2 separate regions of the Homo sapiens genome follow, and region 2 is linked to region 1. Evidence: promoter capture Hi-C in 16 types of primary human blood cells and fetal thymus (Javierre and others, 2016). All regions are on one chromosome and are shown on one strand. Each heading gives the region's core, a stretch centred on a gene start or on the middle of the fragment in contact. The rest is flanking DNA. Distances are from core to core; before and after follow the strand shown.

Region 1 (4,977 bases), core at 1,377-3,876:
GGCGGATCATGAGGTCAAGAGATCGAGACCATCCTGGCCAACATGGTGAAACCCCGTCTCTACTAAAAATACAAGAATTAGCTGGGCCTGGTGGTGTGCCTGTAGTCCCAGCTACTCGGGGGGCTGAGGCAGGAGAGTTGCTTGAACCCAGGAGGTGGAGACTGCAGTGAGCCGAGATCACACCACTGCACTCCAGCCTGGTGACAGAGAGAAGCTCCATCTCAAAAAAAAAAAAAAAGAAAAAAGAAAAAGGATCTGGGGTAAAAAGCCTTTAAAATAAAAACAGTTCACCCATCTCCATAGCAAGGTGTCTACAATCCTGCATTAAAGGCATCATTTAGGAAGTTCGTAGGGTACTTTTTAAGTGGAAAAATACATACTTAACCTTTATCCCTACAACAAATTGTTTTATTGGTTTATGTGTAGCTTGAAGGCATTAGATTAGAGCAAGAAACAAAAAGCCTAACACATTAAAGAAAATACCAATTAGAGGTCAAAGTTTATCTACATCATAATTTTACCAAAGTTATACATCTTTTTTCCCCAAAAGAAAAGTAGCATATAGCATCTATTTGAATTTGAATTATTTGACATAACTTAATGTTTCCCCTATTCTTGAATATTTATCACATATCTCAATTTTCACATTAACAACTAATATCCATGTTATATATTTAAAATGAATTTCCATTAATTCTTCTCCCCCTTTTTTCTAATTAATTAGGGATCAATTTTGTCAACATATTGAAGAAATCATCTGAGGAAAATAAGAATCACATTTCCTTTTTACTATTAGACTGCTATCACACATTTTAAAAGATCATTCTTTGTATTTGCAATTCAAAAGCAGAGAAAACAACTAATTTAATTATCATGCAAAGTATATATAATTTTCCCGATTTGTTAATCAAAGTGGCTTTAAGAGGATTCTGTCACAAAGATGCTCTGATAGTAACAGGAAAGTAAGCACAAATCCTCACTGAGACTCTGTTAAGTGAAAACCAAGTGTTTCAAGCTTCCATTGCTCCCCCTAATGGTAGGAAAGCAGAAAACATCTAGACGTATGTATTTCACATTTGTCAACTAAATACTTTACAGAAACCTTCCTCCATGTGAGTATGTTCAATATTGTGTTTTATGTAAGTTCAGAAAACAAACTAAAAGTAATAAATATATCAGTTATTATTAAATTTCTGGTATTATATGAAAGACTCCTTGCTATTCTAAGTAATTATTAAATGTTTGGATTTAATCGCTTTGCTTAAGTTTTGGGTAAAGGTGAAAAAGTTAAACTCATAGATTGTATAATATAAATCAATTATCTATAGGAACCAATCCTATTTTTTCTCAACTGTTACTACATGATTGATTTATTTAAAAATTAAACAAGACTCAGACAACTTTACATTCAAATATTCACATCTCTAACAGCACTGACTTGTCAAATTACCCCATGTATCTTGAAATGCTTACTACAAGAAGAAAGTTTTACTCTAAAAGGCATTTTGAACAATTTTCTTTTGAGAACTCAGACAAAGAATGGGTATCAGTGTAACTCATGAAATACATGAAGACTATCATAGAAAAGTGACTTTGGTGAATGGTGGTTATTTAGGATTGTCTCCTTTCCAAAAGTACAATCTCTTTTTTTATGGTGAAAAGAGTATTATAACAGGGAAAGAAAGCCGATGCAATAGTAAAAACTGTTGAGAAGGGAATTATACAAAGAGTGAGACATGGCATCAAGAATGAATTCAAAAAGAGCAGAAAAATATAGGCATAAAAAGAGATAATGTACAGAAAAAAAGTCAGTGATACAACAACACAAATTTTTACCTGCTAGAATGTAAGTAATTTAGAGCTGGATTTTATAAACATGAAATTGTTTTTCTAATACATTCAACCAAAAGTCAGCACACATAGTTCAGTCATCTCTCATTACTTACAATAAAATATTTTCTATTTGTTAGGAAATAATATCTTATTCCCTGGATCTATTATTTCTTTTTATTGATTTTCTTTCTATTCTCTAAACTTAATTGCTTAATTTTTATAACTGATTCTCTGTCTCTATTCCATCTTATTCCAGCATGGATTATTTAAAACCTGTATTAGTTTTGGAACCACTAAACATTTGCTCAGAAGTTTGAATTACCAGAGAAGCACCCTAACTCTTCAAGAACTTCCAAGCCTAAGGAATCACTGATTTCATGCATTCATCCTGGAGATTTTCCTTAAAAATTAGAAATAACAGATCTCATGTTTCACAAAATCAAAATGACAACTTTTGGAGTGGGGGAATGAGAAGTGGGAAAAGGATGATACTGGGGGTTCTTTGTCAGTATGCTGTATGTATGCTGTATGTCAGTGCAGTTGAATGACTCCTTCTGTGCGTCAGAAATCCAAAGCAGCAGCAGCAGCAATTAGGGAAGATCGTCACTTTCACTCAAGGTTCAGAAATGGGGGAGGAGAGCAGGGGGGACAAAGGAAAAGGGGAGGAGAAAGCAGGGCAAAGAGGGGAGGGATGGAGGTGAAGATAGGGCACATCCTGCAAAGATAATGTCTGTACAATCAATGACATCATCCTCCTGCTTATATATATAGGGGAATGGCCAGAGCACCTCTCATAGTTCACTCACTTTCAAAGCCAGCTGAAGGAAAGAGGAAGTGCTAGAGAGAGCCCCCTTCAGTGTGCTTCTGACTTTTACGGACTTGGCTTGTTAGAAGGCTGAAAGATGATGGCAGGAATGAAAATCCAGCTTGTATGCATGCTACTCCTGGCTTTCAGCTCCTGGAGTCTGTGCTCAGGTAAGCAAAACAGAATTTCACAACTCCCTGAAGTGATTTCTTTTTTCTCTTTTGCAGTGTGTTGCTACTTATGTTAATGTATCTGGGGAGAAGAGTTGCTCCCTTTTATTCAGGATTTACCTTTTAGTGACAGAAACTGAGTATCTCTTTCTCTGCCTTTATGATTACTGAGAGATGTATTTTCTCTTTTAAAATCTGCAAAGCAATAAAAGGGATTTCAATGAAACACTGCACGACCTCCTTTGGAATTCAACAACTAGAGGGAAAAAAACCCTACAAAACTTTCAATTAGGCTGATCATTATCTAATGAGAAATACAGAGGCAGTGGCTGTCAACCTGCAAACCCATCATTAAATCCCATTCCATTCAAAATGTTTTACTCTCATCCTCATTCATTCTCTTAGGAAGCGGTGGCCCTCACGCCCTTGTAATAGTCCCCGTATTATTTTCTTGTTTGTGTTAAGATAACAAATAAAGTGAAAATTGATACTTAGTGAAAAATGAAGCATTATTTGTAGAAAATTATTTCTAGAAAAATACAAAAATATTCCAGATCCTTTTTGAGAACAGAATTTGCATAGTCTAATAAGTGTGCTATTAATATAACTGTTTGGCATTTTTTCCATGCCATTTAAGTTAATACAAAATACAATTGGAAAATTGGTATTCTTATATTGATGGAAATTATTTGACTTTAGAGTGTTTTGCATGTGGTTTGAAAGAAGTTATATAGTCCTAAGTATCTACGAATAACTCACTTTGAAAATAAGACTTAAATTGAAAGGTATAACATGAAATATTACAACCATTGCAAAAGGCTCTACTTAATATTTAAGAAATATTACAATGAACACTTCAAAGGGAAAAGAACACATTAGGAAGCAAATGCAGCAAAAATAATTTAACCTGTTCTGTGCTTTTATGTATCATAAATATGACATGGAAATGTTTAACTCAAACTCATGCTATCATTTGATTTAAATTATGAAATTAAAATCTAAGAAGATATAAATGTGATTTATACAAAATTTTAAATTTATTTTAATCATCAGAACATAACTTTCAGCTTCTACTTTTTAAATCTTATGAGAAAAAACAAACTTTTCTATAATTATGATTTTATCTGAAAGTTATATGAGATTAAAGATTCACATACTTCTGGAAGAAAAACTGGGTTATTGATTAAGCACTGTGTTTATTAACTTGAAACTACTTGTTGTAATAATGCAATAGTTATAAGGATTTTGGTATACATTGTTCATAAATTCCTAAAACAGATTATGTCTCTAACAAATAGTGAGAAAAGATCTCTTGTATAATTTAGGTTCTAGGTAAAATTAAGCCAATGGGTTCTCCAATTGTGGCATTTCTTTTTACTGAGTGTGTAGTACAAGGAAGATAGAGTCATTTTTAACTTTATTTTTATTATTGTATAGTATTTTCCAAATTTTCCTTCTCTGTAAAATATTCATTAACAGAAACTTGGATAGAGTTTTTTAAAAATCCAGAGATCCATTTTCAATGCTGTTGTACATGTGTTGTTGAACAGCTCCACTTTTGCTTTAAACAATTTCCTTAAATGCCTATGAAAAAATTGAGGATACATAATTTTGAATTCTCTTAAAGTACAATACAATTCTTTCAACGTGTGTTTTGTAAAAAACATCTCAAGTTAAGTAAACCTCAGTATCTTTATTATTCTAAAATTATCAGTAAGCAATTCCCTTTGGTTTTGTCTTGAAAAAGTCTCTTGTATAGTCTTCATTATGTTGTGTTTTTAAATGTTAATATGCATATTTTCTATATATGTAAACTGTGGCTGGTAAGAAATAAGCTACTCTAGCATATTTGGTAAAATATGTGTTATACAATGTAATCACATTTTTAAAGCCTGAAATTCAAAGATTAAACAACTCCCAGTGATCAATAGCTGTCTGAAAAATAATCATATGCTTATTTTCTTAGAAGTGCTTCTACTATTTTAGCTTCCTATTATGCTAAAGTATAACTATAATTTGTTTTTTAGGATTACTATTTTTAAGAAAATACATAAGAAAGACACTAACCTCTAAGATTTTTTTTTAGATTAACCTAAAATCTGTAGATTATGATATAATTATATGATATGTAATTATAGTAAACCTGATTTTGATTTTACTCAGATTCAG
Region 2 (4,977 bases), core at 1,075-3,574, 1.0 Mb before region 1:
GAAATTGAAATAGTTATTGCTAATATAAAAATTATAACAGAACTTTACTTCAAAATTTACTTATTTTAAATTGTACTTTGCTAATATATATTTTTCATCATTACATAGAATCTGGGATACAATTTTTATTTATTTATTTGTTTATTGATTGATTGAGTGATTGATAGTGACTTGCTTTGTCACACAGGCTGGAGTGCAGTGGTAATCATAACTCACTTTAACCTTCAACTCCTAGGCTCAAGCTATCCTTCAGCCTCAGCCTGACGAGTAGCTAGGACTATAGCCGTGTGCTACCATGCCCAGCTAATTTTTTTCATCTTTTGTAGAGACAGGGATTCTCTGTGTTGCACAGGCTGCTCTCAAGCTGCTGGCCTCAAGTGATGCTTTTGCCTTGGCCTCCAAAAGTGTTGGGATTATAGGTATGAGTCACTGCACCTGGCCTGGGATACAACTTCATAAATTCATATATTAAAATATTTCTAGAGTTTTGATTAATATGTTTTCTAGAGTCAAAGGCCCAATAATTATTGGTTCATCAGTGTTAAGATGGATATATCTGCTTTAATAAGGACAAGGTTAGTGCTTCACATGTGTTGAAAACATCCACAATGTATTTAAAAAATCACATATGCTCGGGGCAGAGCACAAACGTAAATCTCATATCCTTGCATAAAAGCTATGCCATTCATTAAACAGCAAAAAATACTGTGATGGAGACAAAAGAAAAAGCCCTCTAAAAAAGCTTTTTATATATCTTTTAAAAATGTAATTCCCTTATTTTGTATTTACCTTATCTTCAATCCATGCGTTATAGCCAGGAGGACTTAATCCCATATTCACAACACTAGCTATTAGCAATGATAATAGCATTAGAGGAGAAATATATTTCCACATATAGTAGTAATATCTGCTGGGAGCAAAGCCCAGCATATCTTTTAGGTCTTCCATAAACCTGAATAAAAAGAAAGTATTTAATTATTCCTTAATTTAATATTGCTAAACCTTAAAAAATGTGCATTATATTAATGGTCTGACAAACATTTACCATTGATACCCTATGACATTTTATACTGTATCAAAGTTCCTCTTGGAAGATGACTATAAAGTAAAATGAAGCCAGGTAAGTACTATAATTTTTATTTAGGGAAAGCTCTCTTAAGCCAATTACTGATTTCTCCTTCTACTGATAACTTTCTATTCTATAAACAAAATATTTTCAGTATATTAAAAATTTCTTGTCTCTTTTTTAGTAATACAAGTAATAATTACAAAAAGGAATTATTTAGAAATTATTTCTTTTAGTAATTACTGCTTAAATATTATTAAGAAATATTAAGTAATTATATATTAAGGAATTATTACTATGCTATTAATACTATTCTATCAAGGAATTATTACTTTTAGTAATAATTACTTATTAGTAAATAATTTTACTAATTACTACTTTTCCTAATAATTTTACTATTACTTTAGTAATAATTAGTAAAAGTAATAATTCCTTAATATCACAGCATTAAAAGCATAATAATAATTCCTTAATATCATCAAATATACCTAATCAATGTTATATTTTCTGAACTCTTCTTTTTACATTCCGAATTTCTAAAAAGGTCTACATATAATAACTAATTGTTATGAATTGTTATGTCTCTTGAGTCCATTCTTTCTTTCTTTTTTTTTTTTTTTTTTGAGACAGAGTCTCACCTGTTGCCCAGGCTGGAGTACAGTGGCACAATCTCGACTCACTGCAACCTCATCTTCCCAGGTTCAAGCAATTCTCCTGCCTCAGCCTCCCGAGTAGCTGGGATTACAGGCGACCACCATCACGCCCGGCTGATTTTTGTATTTTTAGTAGAGATGGCGTTTCACCATGTTGGTCAGACTGCTCTCGATCTCCTGACCTCAAGTGATCTGCCCACCTTGACCTCCCAAAGTGTTGGGATTACAGGCTTGAGCCACCACACCTGGCCCAGTCTTAATCTCTATGTTTCTCTTCCCTTTTTCATTTCTTCCAAGTTGCTCCAGAATCTTAAAGGACATCTTCAATGTAAGAATTCTACACCTGCCCTTTAGAAAAAATATGAACTTTGAAGACCAAGAGACCTCATTTCAGATCACAGTTCTGTGTTCTTTTGATGTATATCTTAATCTCTCTAAGCTTCATTTTTGGTGTTTTCCAAAAATATAATATAATACCCACCTTTGAGGGTTATTACTAGAACCATAAACAATGGATGCTTAGCATACTACCTCACATATGGTACAAAATCGACAGATGCATCTATTAGTAGTAGTATTTTTTCTTCTGTTGTTATAAATAGTGTTATTCAGGAACACTAGCATTAAAAAGAGAGATTCTTTAGTAAGTCTATCATGAATAACGAACTGTCTAAATGGAAATCTAAATTACAAATGTATTTATTTACAGATCAGTCCAAAAACAATATCAAATTCCATCATGGTACAGGTTATGAGTTTTGAGTAGCCTAGTAAAGCTTAGAGAAACCTGGCCTTGAAATGAAGGTCAAGGTTACAGTACTGGCTCTACAGCTAACATATTGTATCCTCCTGTAAAAGAAGGGGCAGTTTCCCATCTGTAAGATATGGATCATGTTAGTTAACAAGGAGTATTTTTTGATTACACACTTTATTTTTTAAGAGCAATTTTAGGTTCACAGCAAAATTGAGCTGAAAGTAGAGAGATTTCCCATATAGCTCCTACCAATATATGTGCATAACCTCCTCCATTATCAGCAACCCCCACGAGAGTGGAATGTTGGTTACAATTGATGAACCTACATAAGTTAACACATCATTATTACCTAGAGCCCACAGTTTACACTGGAATTCACTGTTTGTGTAGTACATTCTCTGGATTTGGACAAATGTATAATGACGTGTGTCCACCATTACAGTGTCATACAGAGTAGTTTCACTGCCCTAAACATTCTGTGCTCAGCGTATACATCCCTGGATCTGGCCCAACCCCTGTTAACTGCTGATGTTTTTACTGTTTCCATAGTTTTACCTTTTCCATATTATAATATAGGGGAATCTTACAATATGTAACCTTTTCATATGTGACTTTTTTCACTAAGTAATGTGCATTAAAATTTCCTCTGTGTCTTTTCATGGATTGAATAATATTTCATTGTCTGGATGTATGACAATTTATCCATTTACCTACTAAAGGATATCTTGTTTGCCTCCAAGTTTGGGCAATTATGAATATAGTTGCTATAAACACCCACGTGCAGAATTTTAAGTGGGCATAAGTTTTCAACTCCTTTGGGTAAATACCAAGTAGCATGATTGCTGGATTATACACTAAGAGCTATTACTACTATTATTATACAGTACATGATTATTAAATGTAAGTTCTCCTAAGCTTCCTGACCTGGAGCTTTTGGCAACCACAAAAAACATTCTCTAAGCTTTGTTATAAAGCTCATTCAATACCCACAATATTCTTTATGCTGCTTAAAAGGACTCTGGCCTTCACTTAAGGTGCATGCATTACTACTTTACATAGGGCTGTAATGAGCTTGGTGATCTTACTACCTCTCAGTCCATGTATGTGATTAGAGACAGTGACTATAAAAAGTATTGGACAAATCCTCCAAAGGTCTTTTTCCCTTGAGAGAACTCTGGTGCTTCACATCATTTCAAATACATACACTTTTCACATCAGTGTACCTGAATGGTGTGAAAAGTATGTGTATTTGATATGAATTTATGAATAAATAGTGAATTTATTCATTATTTATGCGTATAGTGAATTTAAGTAATGACTCTATATAAAAATAATGTTTCTGTGCAGCAAATGACATATACATCTCAGACCTGGGAAAATATCATTTCCCAATATTGTCCTGCTATATAAGGCATTATGACACATGCACTCCTCTTATAAATCAATTTAGCAATATAATTAGGAGATAAGCTTTAGAGTTAAACAGAAATGGACATGAGTCCCAGGTCTGCTGCTGTCCAGGTGGGTGACAGGCAAGTCACAGGGTGTCTCTCTAAGCTTGATTTTCCTTATCTGTGAAATGTAGATAACAATAAAGAACTCAAAAGAAACTAAGGTTCTTGGAACTCTGCCAATACTTACTAAATCCTGAAAGTTAGCTATTTGATAACCAGGACCAAATCAAAGATCTAAAATTCTACATACTATTACATCCTATATAATTCTATTTGCCCAACAGGGAAATGTAATTTACCAAAACTGTTGAATCAGTGAGAGCCTGCAAAAGGTTTGATTTTTTAAAGAATTGTTCCCTCTATTCATTTATTTCCTCTTCTAAATGAAATGAACATTGATAATTGATGTTTTCAAACTAGAGATTAAAAGTGAATACATAAAAGCAAATATACTTACTTATCTATGCCATAAACAAAGCATACAGCAATATTCTCCAAAATGACTACAATTAGCAGAGGCAGTGTAGCAGAATAATCATCAAACATTGTAACAAAGTAATTTCCAGAGCGTTGCACAAATATCAGGCCAATACAAAATGCCAGAAGACAACAGATAACTAGACAAAAGAAATAAATGAAAAAATGAGACTCTATTCAGAGACAAGGCCTTTAAACTTTATTATAAATTATTATATTCAAACTTTTAAAACTTTTATAACATGTCCATCATATAAACAGGCAATACCTTTCCTGATACATGGCATATAACCTATTAGGAATTAGGTTACCTGGGTGTAGCCTCAACATTCATACAAATTTATTCTAAGACAGTAATTCATCTCCCTGAGCCCGTGGAAACTCATTTACCAAGTACAATAATAAATGAGTCAAAGTTTAGAGAAAAATTTAAAAGTATAAATTTCCATACTCTATTCGTATAATTAATAGCAAAGTGACTTCTTCAGGCACCAAATATTTATAGGTCATTTATTCATTTAATAATGTTCTACAGTGTTGAAATATAGATGAGATTTTTGAATTAATAATGAG

The links. The method cuts DNA at HindIII sites, captures the fragments that hold promoters and counts their contacts. A CHiCAGO score of 5 or more calls a contact.
Region 2: a fragment that was not itself captured here is called in contact with the fragment with the promoter of NTS in region 1 in 2 of 17 cell types (naive B cells and total B cells); the score reaches 7.2 in naive B cells.

The regions. Positions count from the first base shown.
Region 1 is chr12:85,871,669-85,876,645 of GRCh38, forward strand. It overlaps NTS (neurotensin), which reads left to right and starts at 2,627. Exons shown (of 4, transcript NM_006183.5): 1 at 2,627-2,808; 2 at 4,972-4,977. The coding sequence starts at 2,736. The HindIII fragment of the contact is 11,906 bases long and covers 1,014-4,977 here.
Region 2 is chr12:84,862,650-84,867,626 of GRCh38, forward strand. It overlaps SLC6A15 (solute carrier family 6 member 15), which reads right to left. Exons shown (of 12, transcript NM_182767.6): 10 at 4,385-4,544; 11 at 790-952. Among named protein-coding and RNA genes, the nearest start is that of SLC6A15, 48 kb to the right of the region's middle. The HindIII fragment of the contact is 337 bases long and covers 2,157-2,493 here.